Linked DNA regions of Homo sapiens: all the other regions are linked to region 3. The links are contacts of gene promoters, found by promoter capture Hi-C in human tissues and cell types (Jung and others, 2019). All regions are on one chromosome and are shown on one strand. Each heading gives the region's core, a stretch centred on a gene start or on the middle of the fragment in contact. The rest is flanking DNA. Distances are from core to core; before and after follow the strand shown. Region 1 overlaps ULK4 (unc-51 like kinase 4). Region 2 has its middle 36 kb from the start of TRAK1. Region 3 holds the start of ZNF621 (zinc finger protein 621).

Region 1 (4,733 bases), core at 2,070-4,569, 1.2 Mb before region 3:
AAATACCATCCATGCATGGCCTACTCTCAGATTAATGTCATCAGCCTAAACCTTTTCTCTGAACTCACACTCACATACCAACTCTCCATGTGCTACCGAAACGTTAATGTCTGATAAAGATTTTTCTGCTCCAGACTTGCTATTCTGGCAGTCTTTACCTATATTAGTAAATGGTGGCTCTGTTATTCCAGCTGCTTAGTTGCATGGAATTATTCTTGACTTCTCTTTTTCACCTCTCCTATCCAATCAACAGCAAATCTAATTATTTGTACCTTGAAAAAATATCCATAATCTCATCAATTAACACCATTTCTTCATTACCACACTAACCAAAGCCACCATGACTTCTCATCCAAATTGTTACAGTTGCTTCTCAGCTGGTCTTCCTTTTTACATTTCCATAGTCTGTCTTCCTCACAGGATCCAGAATGCTGTTTTTTTTTAACCACATGTCAGATCATGCCACTCTTTCTCCTTGAGAGTAAAGTTCAAGCTTCTTACCATGGCATACAATCCCTTACATGGTTTGGAGCCTGGTTACCTCTCTGATCTTTTCTTACACTGTGCTGTAGCTACACAAGTACACAGCAAGCATGTGTTTGCCTTTGGGATGTTGCATGTGGCTTAACAGTTTTCTGGAATGTTTTGTCCACATTGCACGCTTGCTTTACCCCTTCTGGTCTCTGCTTCAATGACATCCTGTCGAGAGGTTTTCTCTGGCAAGTGACTAGTTTTCTTACTCTTTAATTTTCTCCATAGTACTTGTCACCACCTAAGCTATTTTCTGGTTGCTTGTTTGCTGTCTGTTTCATTGGACTTGAATATACACTCCATAGGTTGTATCTACATCAACTAGAAAAATACTTAGCACATAGTAGACACGGTAAATAGTTATTGAATGAATAAACTGATGTCATCATCCTTGTACTCATTGAACTCATTTTGCTGTAGACATTGTACTGGTGTAGATATTAGGCATAGGACTTGCTGAGTTTGGCCTTAGAATCACAGAGGTATAGCAGGAGGTCTTAATAGAAGGCCGATCAGAGTTACGTAAAGGTGGATGTGTGTGCAATGCGCATAGGATTCCTGTGGTGATGAGAGTAAGAAAATTGTGGTCAGATTAGAGGGAATGAATCAGAGAGATAAATGGAGAGAAATGCAGGGGTTTGAGTGACAGTAGTTTGGGAAATGGGTATGTCCTGGGGAGAAATAATACTGTTAAAGATAGTTGGCTAGGCACAGTGACTCATGCCTGTAATCCCAGCACTTTGGGAGGCAGAAGTGGGCAGATCATTTTAGGTCAGGAGTTCAAGATCAGCCTGGCCAACATGGTGAAACCCCATTTCTATTAAAAATATAAAAATTAAATGAAACAAATAAACAAAACAAAAATACAAAAATTAGCCTGGCGTGGTGGCGCATACTTGTAATCAGAGCTACAAGGTGATCCAGGAGAATCACTTGAACCCAGGAGGCGGAGGTTGCAGTGAGCTGAGATCATGCCACTGCATTCCAGCCTGGGTGATGGAGTAAGACTCTGTCTCAAAAAAATTAGTAAGGGACACAAAGGAGAATTGATCTGACCTTGTTTATTTGCAGTTTATTTGGATTTCTTTTCAGTGTGTTATCTTTTTAACTTGATATACCCTTGTAGAACACTGAGAAATATCATTTGCTGCTTTTCGTAGAACGCTTGTGAAGTATTTGTGGGACACTATGCTCAAATGTTTCCACATTTTGTCTCCTTTATAGATGTGAATTCTTTTAGAAAATAATGTTCTCTTGTCAGTAAAGTCAGTTTATTCTACTGTAGCTGTGAAAACACATCTTGTAATGGGGAGGCATTGGGGAGAGCATGAAGAAATGGAGCATCATTCTAGAGTTAGTTTTAAACTGTTATGGATCCCATTAGTTTTTTATTTCTCCCAGCAGATGTAATGGATATTTTCTTATGTATTAACAGTCTGTACTAGTGTTTGAAAATGATTTGAATAGTTTTTTGCCTTAAGTGAAAGATATTTCAAACCATGGTAGTTAAGCAACACATTATCAAATTTTATAATGGATAATTTAAACTTTAGAGAAAAATTTATTCCTTATAGACAAGTGTGAATTTGCTTTTTTTATACTCTGTAAATTTGGAGAGGATTTCATTTGGATTCCTTGACTGCCAAAAGATAACCATTTCTATTTTCTCTGTTTTCTGTTTCTGGGGTAGCTGTTACTGATATAGAGGATTTCCCAAAACAGGGAGAGAAGCTCATTTTTGAATCATCTCAGTCTCTGTTTGGATTAAGATGATCTAGATTGTTTGGTGTTTTAGCTGCCTTCCAGAAGCAAATGCAAATCCTGTCTGAAGAAGTTTAACCGTAACCCTAGGCCTCAGAGTATCTCCGTAGTTTTCAGGTATAGAGTCTAATACTCAATAGAAAGTAGTCAGGCCTATGAGGAGACAAGATGATATGAATAAAAGCAATAAAATCAACAAGAGAGACAGTATCCATAGGGAATACAGACAATAGAGTTATCAGATACAGACTTTAAAATAACTGTGATTAATATAGTCAAGGAATTTGAAAGATTAAGGGTTTCAGTGGAGAACTAGAACTATTAAAAAAACCCAAATGGATATTCTAGAACTGAAAAATACAATAATTGAAAGTAACAAGTCAGTGGATTTGGCTAACAGATTAGACTCTCTGAAGCAGAGAAATGCTATCTGGGAGAAGTCTGAGATCAGTGTAGAGAGACAAAAGTATAGAAGACATGAAGAATAGTGGGAGAGATATAGAGGAAAACAGAAAATTGTGGGTTTTATAATAAACGATAATAGATAATTTAGATATCAATATAGGAAAGAAATAAAAACTTTTACTCCTAAGCTGTACTGTACCAAAGATCAATACAGGTAGATTTTATGATTTTCTGTTTAAATTTGTAAAGGTAAAGCAGTAAAGCTTCTGGTAGATAGCATATGAAAATATCTTCATGACTTTTGTGTAGACTGAAATTTTTTTTAACAGAACACAAAAGCATTGTCAGAAAGGAAAATATTGATAAATTAGGCTACCTTAAAATTATGGTTCATTCAAAGACATTAAAAGAGTAAAAAGGTAAGCCACAGAGTAAGAGACATTCATAATCAACATATATAATCAACAGTGGTCTCTTAACAGAAATATGTACAGACTTACTTCATCAAGGAAAAGAGGACAGATAACCCAATAGAAAAATGAGCACAAGACTTGGACAAACAGTTTACAAAACTGGTTATCTCCAGATGGTCAATTAACACCTGAAAAGATGCTTAACCTAATTAGTCATCAGGAAAATTTAGTTTAATCACAATGAGTTACCAACATATACCCACTAGAATGGCTGTGATTAAAAAGCCTGATAATGTAGGGTTTTGGCAAAGATATAGAAAAACTGGAATTTTTTTTTTGTTTTGTTTTGAGACAGAGTCTCACTCTGTCGCCCAGGCTGGCGTGCAGTGGTGCAATCTTGGCTCACTGCAAGCTCTGCCTCCCGGGTTCACGCCATTCTCCTGCCTCAGCCTCCCGAGTAGCTGGGACTACAGGCGCCTGCCACCACGCCCGGCTAATTTTTTGTATTTTTAGTAGAGACGGGTTTCACTGTGTTAGCCAGGATGGTCTCGATCTCCTGACCTCATGATCCACCCGCCTCGGCCTCCCAAAGTGCTGGGATTACAGATGTGAGCCACCGCGCCTGGCTGAAAAACTGGAATTCTTATATCTACCTGTTGGAGTATAAATTGACATAATGATCACTTTAGAAAACTGATCATCAGTGTCTATGAAACTGAATCGAGGCATGCTTTGTGACCCAGCAAATTTACTTCCAAGGATACAGATATATCCAATAGAAATGTTTATGTGCATCCAGCATAAGTTATGCTTAGCCCTATTCATTAATTGAAATAGCCCAAATGTTCATCCACAACAAAACGAGTAAGTAAATTATGGTATATTCACATACCGGAACACTACACAGCAATGAAAAAGAATGTGGATGAATACCAGCAGACATAAATGTAGAACAGATAAGTCAGGCTTTCAGCTATTTGGTAATGTTTGATCTCCTTATGATTAAGAGTTGAGGGAATGACAGCCTATTTTAGAAGTTCTCAGTGTGTTGGTGAATTTTGACTTTGAGCTTTACATTAAGATCATCTGTACAGGCATTTTTAATGTGAACTTTAGCATGAATGTCTCTGGCTATTTCTCTTGGGCTATTTAGTTTTGCCAAAGAAGAGCACATGCAGAGTGTTCCAGTCACATGCTCGGAAGGAAACGACTGGGCTACCAGAGTCCCAGGCGCCCACTGGGCTAAGGGAGATGAAGTTTCAGTATTTACTGTGCATAAATTTACTTAGTCCCCTGTTTGCAGTTTGGTAGTCCTCTCTTAATCTTGGTCTGCTATTTCTCAGTCCAGATGGTTTTTATTTTCTCTAGAGAATAAATGTTTAAACTTTTGCCTGAGTGCAAGCCTAGTGGCAGTTACCTACATATATTGGCCAGAGGAGGTAATGTAAGGTTCAAACTGCTTTTTAATCAGATTTTGCCAAATATTTGATCTTTTACCCCTCTTTCCTCACTGTTGGTTTTAGAAGTACCTTTTCAATAAATAGTACCAGACAAGTGCTCGTCCACTTGGAAAAACAATGAAATTAGATTCCCACCTCAACCCACATGATCAGTCAATTTCTA
Region 2 (4,304 bases), core at 1,482-3,981, 1.5 Mb before region 3:
TTCAAATACTTAAGAATAAAAGCACAAACTGATTAACATGGTGTGGGCCACGTGTCAGGTGAACCAGGGTGAGTTCTCCAGGTTACAGGACACTTGATGGAGGAGAGACATGTGGCCTGCCCAAGATGCAAATGAGACAGAGCCAACCCCAGAATCTAAGTTCGTCTGCTCCCTTTCTGCTTGGCCACACACAGCAGGTCAGTGCTCGCCTTCCAGCAGGTTCTCCTCAGATCACAAGATGAGAGCAGCAGATACAGCATCACCAGCAAACATAACAAAACCTCCCCAGGAAACTGCAGCCCACTTGTTCTGATCCCAATCGGCCCAGTCACAACTACAGCAAAGGGAATGGGGCCACTGTGATTGGCCTGGACCAATCAATACCCACTGGACGCCTCCTCAACCCCTACTCCAGCATGCTGCAAAGGAGGCTTAAGAATGGAATGAAATCTGGATTCTATTAGGAAAGAAGAAAGTGTGGCAGAGATGGATGTGAATTGGCAATCAATTTCTGTTACTCCCATCATTCACCCTTCATTCCTTCCCTTCTTCCTTCATTCAAGAAGCAGGACCGTGAACCTACTGTCAGTCTTTGTGGAGAAAACAATTGCACAAAACTGGATTCCAGCCCTCCAGGAGCTCATGGTCCATCCATATTTACATAAGAATATTCCATTTTCCTTGGTATCCAAAGTAGCACTGGACAGCCCAGGTGGTCTAAACAGCAAAGAGTAATTTAGAGTGCCTTTAATTACTGCACCTTAAAATGCACCAGTGTCCTAGTTCCCATCTTCATGATCACTGCCAGCCAGGAGGTTGCTGGATCTCAATCGGCCAAAGTGGCAGAAGGTGCCCTTCACCAGGTCCCTGTTCTATTCATGGCAGCTGTGCACGGCTCAGGTTACAGGTTGGTTCAAATCCACAGAAAACTGGCTCCTCTAACTGAGGCAATTTTGGTACTTTACTTTGTCTCTCACACAAGATTTTTATTTTTAAAATCCTAATATTGGAAATAGAAATGTTGAGCTAAAAGGTATTAAGAAGGATGTAGAATAGCCTATTATTACAATCGGGGCAGAAAAAAGGACTGTGAATTCAAAAATATACAAGCACTCAATATTGTATCCTAACATGGCATACATTTAAAGGTTAAGATATGAAAAATGCATACTTTTATGTTGCACTTGGGACAATATTAAAAAGTGGAAATTTTAACCTTTCTTCTAGATTTCTGGGTAAACAAAAGAATGTTTTTAATTTCAAAATTTCTAATAATTCTCCAGGGTAAAATAATCTCTTTAATAATCAGCTAATAACTTTGCTCAATATAATTTTAAAATCAATTATATAAAATATTTCTGCTTCTGTTGAAATGTTTTTAACATCTGTTATCCAATAATTATTTCAATAATAATTTCAAAAGTCAACAAGCACATGAAAAAATGCTCAACATCATTAACCATCAGGAAAATGCAAATCAAAACCATAATGAGATACCACTTCATACCCACAAGGATTTCTATAATCAAAAAGACAGATAATAACAAGCATTGGCAAGGACATGGACAAACCAGAACCCTCACTCACTGCTGGTGGGAATGTAAAATAGCGCAGCCACTTTGGAAAACAGTCTGGCAATTTATCAAAATGTTAAATACAGAGTTACCACATGATCTAGCAATTCCTCTCATAGGTATCAACATAAAGAAATGAAAACAAATGTCCACAATAAAAAAAAGTCTACAGATGTTCACAGCAACATTATTCACAATAGCCAAAAAGTGGAAATAATCCAAAAGTTTACCAACTAATGAAAGGATAAACTAAATATTAAAAATACATAACAATGGAATATTATACAGCAATAATAAGGAATGAAGTACTGATACCTACTACAACATGGGTGAACTCTGAAAACGTTATGCTAAGTGAAAAAAGCCAGTCACAAAGGACTACATATTGTATGATTCCATGTATAACAAATGTCCAAAAGAGGAAAGTCTATACAAACATAAAGTAGATTAGTAGTTGCCTGGGGCTAGAGGATTGGGGGAAATGGGGAGTAACTGCTAATGGATACAGGGTTTCTTTTGCGGGTGAAGAAAGTGTTCTAAAATTTATTGTGGATGGCCGGGCACAGTGGCTCACATCTATAATCTCAGCACTTTGGCAGGCGAGGAAGGAGGATCGCTTGAAGCCAGGAGTTCAAGACCAGCCTTGGCAACATAAGGAGACTCCATCTTTACAAAAAAATTAAAAAATTAGCAGAGCATGGTGGCACACGCCTGTGATCTCAGCTACTCAGGAAGCTGATATGGGAGGATTGCCTGGGCCCAGGAGGTCGAGGCTGCAGTAAGCCATGATCACACCATTGCATTCCAGCTTGGGCAACAGAGCAAGAGAACCTGTCTCAACAAATAAGATTTGCTGTGGTGATGTTGCACAACTCTGTAAACACTGAAAACCATTGAATTCCATACTTTAGATGTGACAACTGAATGGTATGTTAATCATATCTCAATAAAGCTGTTATTTTAACAAAGCTTTTTAAAAAGTCTATGGGAGAGAGTTTTATAAAGAGAGAGAGTTTTACGGGCAGTTTCTTTGGGGTGTCAGAACTATTTTGTATCCTTGGGGTGGTTACATGACTCTATACATGTGTTAAAATTCAGGCTGGGTGCAGTGGCTCACTCTTGTAATCCCAGCACTTTGGGAGGCCAAGGAGGACAGACCACTTGAGGTCAGGAGTTTGAGGCCAGCCTGGCCAACATGGCGAAACCCTGTCTCTACTAAAAATACAAAAATTAGCTGGGTATGATGGCACATGCCTGTAAATCCAGCTACTATGGAGGCTGAGACAGGAGAATTTCCTGAACCTGGAAGGCAGAGATTGCAGTAAGCCAGATCGCGCCACTGTATTCCAGCCTGGGTGACAGAGTGAGACTCTGTCTCAAAAAAAAAAAAAAAAAAAAAAAAAAAAAAAAAATCTAGTTTGCTGTAGATCATTTACAAATTAAAAAAAAATTTAAGTCTACAGCTTTGGGCATACACAGCTGTATTATTAACAAAAGTTCAGAGATAATCATGGCAATGGTTAGTTTGTAAAATGGAAAATGATTCAACTTTCACTGACTTAGTTATGTTTGCTTCAGGGAATAAAAAAGTTATTTCCACTTTTCACCATACATACAATTTCTACTATATATAAAATAACTTCAAAAATATTTCTACCATGCTGGGAACAAGTACGATGGTGGTAAAAGAGGAGAAGGCTGTTTTTATAGAAAACAGCTGAGTCTTCCAATGGAATGAATGCTTCTTCCAGGCACCAGGCTAGGTAGAAATGTGAAGTCCTTGGTTCTTGGTCTGGCTATATAACTGATTTGCTGGTGAGGTGACCTGGGGTGAGTTATTTATGATTCTCCTGCTTAAACTCACCTACGGCTTCCTATCATTGCTAAAATAAAACCCAAGCTCCTGATTCTGGCTTGCAAGGCTCTCAAGGTGCACCCTGTACCTGCCTCTCCTTGCCTCTGCCTACCAGGCTGGGGCACCAGATGAGGAAGGACAGCAGGGTGGACCATGAAACCAGCCAGGCCTGACTCTCCAGCCAAAGGGGGTGCTGAAGGAGGTCACTCACTTCAAAAGTATTTATTGATTATGTTGACAAAGTGCTTAGCACAGTACTTAGCACATAAGGAGCCCTGAATATTTCGTTATTCAGGTAAATAATGAAATTCATTTTTCATTGAGTATGCACAGATACATACTCAAATGTTAGCTTGCTTTATAAGGACAGGTCGCTGTCTACCCTGAATCCTCAACACCCCAGTGGTAATTAGCAGGTGCTCACTAAATCTACTGACTCCACGATGTTGGTCTTAGGAAACAGGGAAGATTCAGGGAGAGTCAGAGTGTTTAGAGAAATTCCAATTAAACTCAAAAGAGACCTTTGTGCATCCAAGTATCTTTTGTCACAGCTTAAGCAAGCATCAGAGTAGGGCAGACTGATTGCAGGGCCAGAGATTTTGGTCCCAATTGTGTGGGATGAGCAGTCAATCCATCAAAGGTAACAGAAAAAGCAAAGGTAGCCCTCGGCACGTGGGGTTTCATTTTCCCTTGGTGAGGGAGGGGAAAGGCGGTATGATGGACTTGGGATACTCCTTCACCCGGGCAGTTCAGGCCTACTCTACTTGACCAGCCCAGGTCAGGCAGGGGCAGCGTGGACTTGGCTCGGGCAGGTCCTGGGTGTGGGTGCCAACCCAGCTTTTGCCAGGTCCTCTGGGCCTAGATCCTGGGGGCGG
Region 3 (4,507 bases), core at 827-3,326:
AAAAAAACAAACAAACAAACAAAAAACAGGTGCATGCCTGTAATCCCAGCTACTTGGGAGGCTAAGGCAGGAGAATTGCCTGAACCTGGGAGGTGGAGGTTGCGGTGAGCCGAGATAGCGCCATTGCACTCAAGCCTGGACAACAAAGGCGAAACTCCGTCTCAAAAACAAAAAAAATAAAAGGACAACACTTAATATCTTCTTAATTGACCAACACCTTTCTACCATCAATTTGCCACTAAGGGCTAGGAAAATCTTTTTAATATGTAAATCCAACCATGTCATCCCCCTGCTTAAAATTCTTCAGTGCCTTCCCAATGAACCAGTACAGAAACCACTGTCCTCACCATGACCTATAATACAGGTATCTATTTCTTCCATCTCATATTGAACCACTTTCTCTGACCCCTTCCAGTTTCTAGAGTACATCCAGCTTTCTCTGCAACTTCAGAGTCCTTGCATCTAGCATTTAGAAAATGTATATTAAAGCAACAATACTAGTCTCTCTGGGATACATACAATACAATTTGTGGGCAATCTCTCCAATAAAGAATTTCTGATTTCAAGCTAGTGCGGTGGCTCATGCCTATAATCCCAGCACTTTGGGAAGCCGAAGCGGGTGGATCACCTGAGCTCAGGAGTTCAAGACCAGCCTGGCCAACGTGGTGTAAACCCCGTCTCTACTAAAAATACAAAAATTAGCCACACGTGGCGGCGCACATCTGTAATCCCAGCTACTTAGGAGGCTGAGGTATGGGAATCACTTGAACCCAGGAGGCAGAGGCTGCAGTGAGCCGATATCATAGTGCCACTACACTCCAGCTTGGGCGACAGAGTGAGACTCCGTCTCACAAAAAATGAGTCTGATTTCAGTAGGTGACTTTCATTTCTAGAACACGATCTGGATTTCCACATTCAGAAAGAATTTCTTGGTATAGGTCCCCTTTCTTCCATTTAAATCTATACATCCAAACTCATCACTCTCTATACACAAAACTTTCATTTCCCCAGCACATATTTACATCTGCCATAGCCCTGGAGATAGATACAAAGGGGAAAACACAGCTTGGCCAAGTTAGGCCTTCCTCATCCTTTCCTGATTATCTGATAGCTAATGTGAGTAAAAAAACATAAACAAACAAACAAAAAAACTGAAAGAAGCTCAGCTCACCTGAGGCCAAGTTGTTTGGAGCATGGCGGATGTCCCCTGGCTTCATGCACTGTCTTCTGGGTTTGGACAAGCAAGATCCTCAAGAGCTAAGAGAAAAAGAGCCATGAGTGCTAAGGACCCTGTCGTCCACCACCTACAGCAACCTATGGCCCTCCCAGTTTCCACATTTCCAGCACTGGATGCACGGAGATTCTACTAGGACTCCCTCTAATTGTTCTCACGCTGATAGCCCCAAACTTCTTATGAATTGTTCTGCCTAGTCTTCAGGACAATCTTCCACCTGCCTGCTCAGTCCGAAGAGCTTTTTTTGAGCCCATTCGTACGGGTAAACTGAGGGACCCAAGAGCCCTGTCCCTATTGTGTTGGGTCTCTACAAACGTAAAGAGTCTTTACAGAATGCTTACAGGGACGATGACGTGGACCCAAAAGAAAGAACCTCAGGAGAAGAGGGACTGGGGTGGCTGAATGCGGATTAAGGGTAAAATACTCAGCGTCCCAGTGGGTGATGCTGACCGGAGACCCCACCCAACCGTGATCTTAACACTCCACCCAAGAAAACAGGCAACCCCAAACATCAGAAACGTCAGTACCGGGAGCCAGAGGCTGTCAGGGCAAGTTCTTTAGGGCAGAAAAGAGGATCAGGCCTCGGTGGCAAAGGGCTGGACACGGGCTCTAGAAGCCCGAGCAGCCACCTTGACGGCTTCGGCGAGGCCCAGATGCCCACGGTCCGGGTGAAGGAGGGGCGGGCCGCCATTGGGACCAAGTTCAGGGGTAGTGGGGGCTGACGAGCCGCCAGGGGCAGCGAGGAAGCCGGCACCGGGCGGACCTGGCACGTAGAACTCGCTGAAACCCACGCTCTGCAGAACGCCGAGGAGCTGGTCACTAACTAAAGGCCGAGCCGGAAGGGCGAGTGCACGCCCAGGGTCCCTCTAGGCCCCCGGAGGCCGCCATCTCGGTCGCCCCGTGGCCAGACCCGCCCCGCCTTTCATGGCTGGCCCCGCCCTGCGGAAGAGGCGAGGTTGCGGCGACCGGCTGGGCTGAGAGGCCGGCGGCGGGCGTGGAACTGTGGCGCTCTAAGCCCGGCTTTCTCCGGCAGCCGTCGGCATCGCCTCTGGCTGGAGTGTCACGGACTGATACAGCCTGGCTCTACCGAGACCTCGCCCTCTAGGCACAAGTGGGCCCCCAGTTCACGGGCTGCGCCTCAGCTGTTGGCCGCCTTGGCCCCGTGGCTCACCTGAAGCCTGGGCCGTGCAGGTGAGGGGAGAATGGCGCCTGCTTTGTCATCTCTAAGAGGCCCAAGCCCAGGATCTTGCTTGGGTCCTCAGCTGGGCAGTCCTCAGGGAAACCATGGTTTCCACTCGCCGTTTTAGCCCTCTCCCTTCCAAGGACCTAGATGTGCGTAGAACCTTTTAGGACAGATTCATTTAACAACCAAAACACCCGTGGCTACATACAGTTGCTAGGCATCCTGTATACACAGGACATGTCCTATATTAAATGATCTTGTCCTGTGTTGACTTTGGGAGGACACCCTAAATGTCTTATATTTAGCTTTTTCCAATAAATTACAAAAACTCGTAGTTACAGCTATTTTTCTGCTCAGTAACTGGCACTTAAATAAAATGTTAACACCAGCTGAAATATATATATCTCATACTTCCATAAATAATGATCTGGACAGACCTTTATGGTCTGTTCTGTTAGTTGGACTGCAGGAAGAAAAAACAGTGAAGAGGGGAGGCTGCTAATTAAAAGAACTTACTTTTCATATTCAGGAAAGGAAAAGACTGTTTTTTGACCAAAGTCCCAAGTCACTAACAAGTACTTGCCATTAATTTACATAATTTTAGATCAGTACACGTACTCTGAAAATCAACCAGTACACAACAGCCTCACTCCAAGCTTCTGAACATGAGCCAGTCAGTGATAAACACTTCCCGAAGCCAGCCAGTGGCAGCTCTACCCAGCTCATTGGCAAGTACCTCACTACTGTGCCCTTCCTTCTGGACAGGAGCCTTTCTCCAGTATCAAAGTGGTTGCTAAGATGGACAGACTTTGTTTTTTTTTTTTTTGCTTGTTTTTTGTTTGTTTGTTTTTTTGAGACGGAGTCTCGCTCTGTCGCCCAGGCTGGAGTGCAATGGCGCAATCTCGGCTCACTGCAAGCTCTGCCTTCTGGGTTCACGCCATTCTCCTTCCTCAGCCTCCCGAGTAGCTGGGACTACAGGCACCCCGCCACCACGCCCAGCTAATTTTTTGTATTTTTAGTAGAGACGGGTTTTCACCGTGTTAGCCAGGATGGTGTCGATCTCCTGACCTTGTGATCCGTGCACCTCGGCCTCCCAAAGTGCTGGGGATTACAGGCGTGAGCCACCGCGCCCGGCCCAGACTTTGTTTTACTTTAATCACGCTGATAACTTCTCCTGAACACAGTTCCAGATACCAGGCTCCTCACCACCAAGCATTTCCATGCTATAAAGGGGAATTGGTCTCCCACCACTAAAAGATAAAAAATGATCCTGGATATCTAGATATATTGCTTTATTACAGGGGTCCCACTTCTTGGATTTGTTATTCCTTTCTTAAGAATTAGACTGACTTATGAAGTCCTATTATGGAGAGTATCTTAGGTATCTACTGCTGCATAACAAATCACCCTAAAACCTTATGGCTGAAAACAAAACACACTTATTATCTCTTAAAGTTTCTATGAATCAGTGAACATAGTCAGTCAGTCCTAAAAAGAGAAAAAGGAAAAAAAAAAAAGGTTCTGTGGATGAGGAATTCGGGAGTGGCTTGGCTGGATGGTACTGGCTTGGGATCTCTCATGAGGGTCTAGTCAGGTGTCACCTGGGACTGCAGTCACTTGAAAGTTGGACTGAGGCTGGGGATTTGCCTCAAAGGTAACTCACTCACATGGTTGGCACATAGATGCCAGCTATTAGTGTGAAACTTCCCTTCCTGCGCCGGGTGCAGTGGCTCAGACCTGTAATCCCAGCAATTTGGGAGGCCAAGGCAGGCAGATCACCTGAGGTCAGGAGTTTGAGGCCACCCTGGCCAACATGGCGAAACCCTGTCTCTACTAAAAATACAAAAATTAGCTGGGCGTGGTGGCGGGCACCTGTAACCCCAGCTACTTGGGAGGCTGAGGTAGGAGAATCACTTGAACCCAGGAGGCGGAGGTTGCAGTGAGCCAAGATCCCGCCACTGCACTCCAGCCCAGGATATAGAGCAAGACTGTCTCAAAAAAAAAAGAAAAGAAAAGAAAAAGAAGCCTCCCTTCGCACACCGCGTATCTGTACATGGCTGAGTATCCTCACAACACAGGAGCAGACTTCC

What was found. Contacts are between HindIII fragments. The study calls those that stand out against the background at their distance.
Region 1: a contact is called between a fragment that was not itself captured here and the fragment with the promoter of ZNF621 in region 3, in 1 of the 25 tissues and cell types used here (dorsolateral prefrontal cortex).
Region 2: a contact is called between a fragment that was not itself captured here and the fragment with the promoter of ZNF621 in region 3, in 1 of the 25 tissues and cell types used here (dorsolateral prefrontal cortex).

What each region holds. Positions count from the first base shown.
Region 1 is chr3:41,723,448-41,728,180 of GRCh38, reverse strand. The region is part of intron 22 of ULK4 (unc-51 like kinase 4); the gene reads left to right. Among named protein-coding and RNA genes, the nearest start is that of ULK4, 240 kb to the left of the region's middle. The HindIII fragment of the contact is 3,183 bases long and covers 1,728-4,733 here.
Region 2 is chr3:42,053,587-42,057,890 of GRCh38, reverse strand. It overlaps a transcript of TRAK1 not described here. Among named protein-coding and RNA genes, the nearest start is that of TRAK1, 36 kb to the left of the region's middle. RefSeq lists an enhancer at 259-368. The HindIII fragment of the contact is 4,689 bases long and covers 387-4,304 here.
Region 3 is chr3:40,522,529-40,527,035 of GRCh38, reverse strand. It overlaps ZNF621 (zinc finger protein 621), which reads right to left and starts at 2,076. Exons shown (of 5, transcript NM_198484.5): 1 at 1,762-2,076; 2 at 1,172-1,257. The coding sequence starts at 1,195. RefSeq lists enhancers at 1,595-1,734, 1,294-2,106, 2,385-2,474 and a silencer at 2,035-2,194. The HindIII fragment of the contact is 18,179 bases long and covers 1-4,507 here.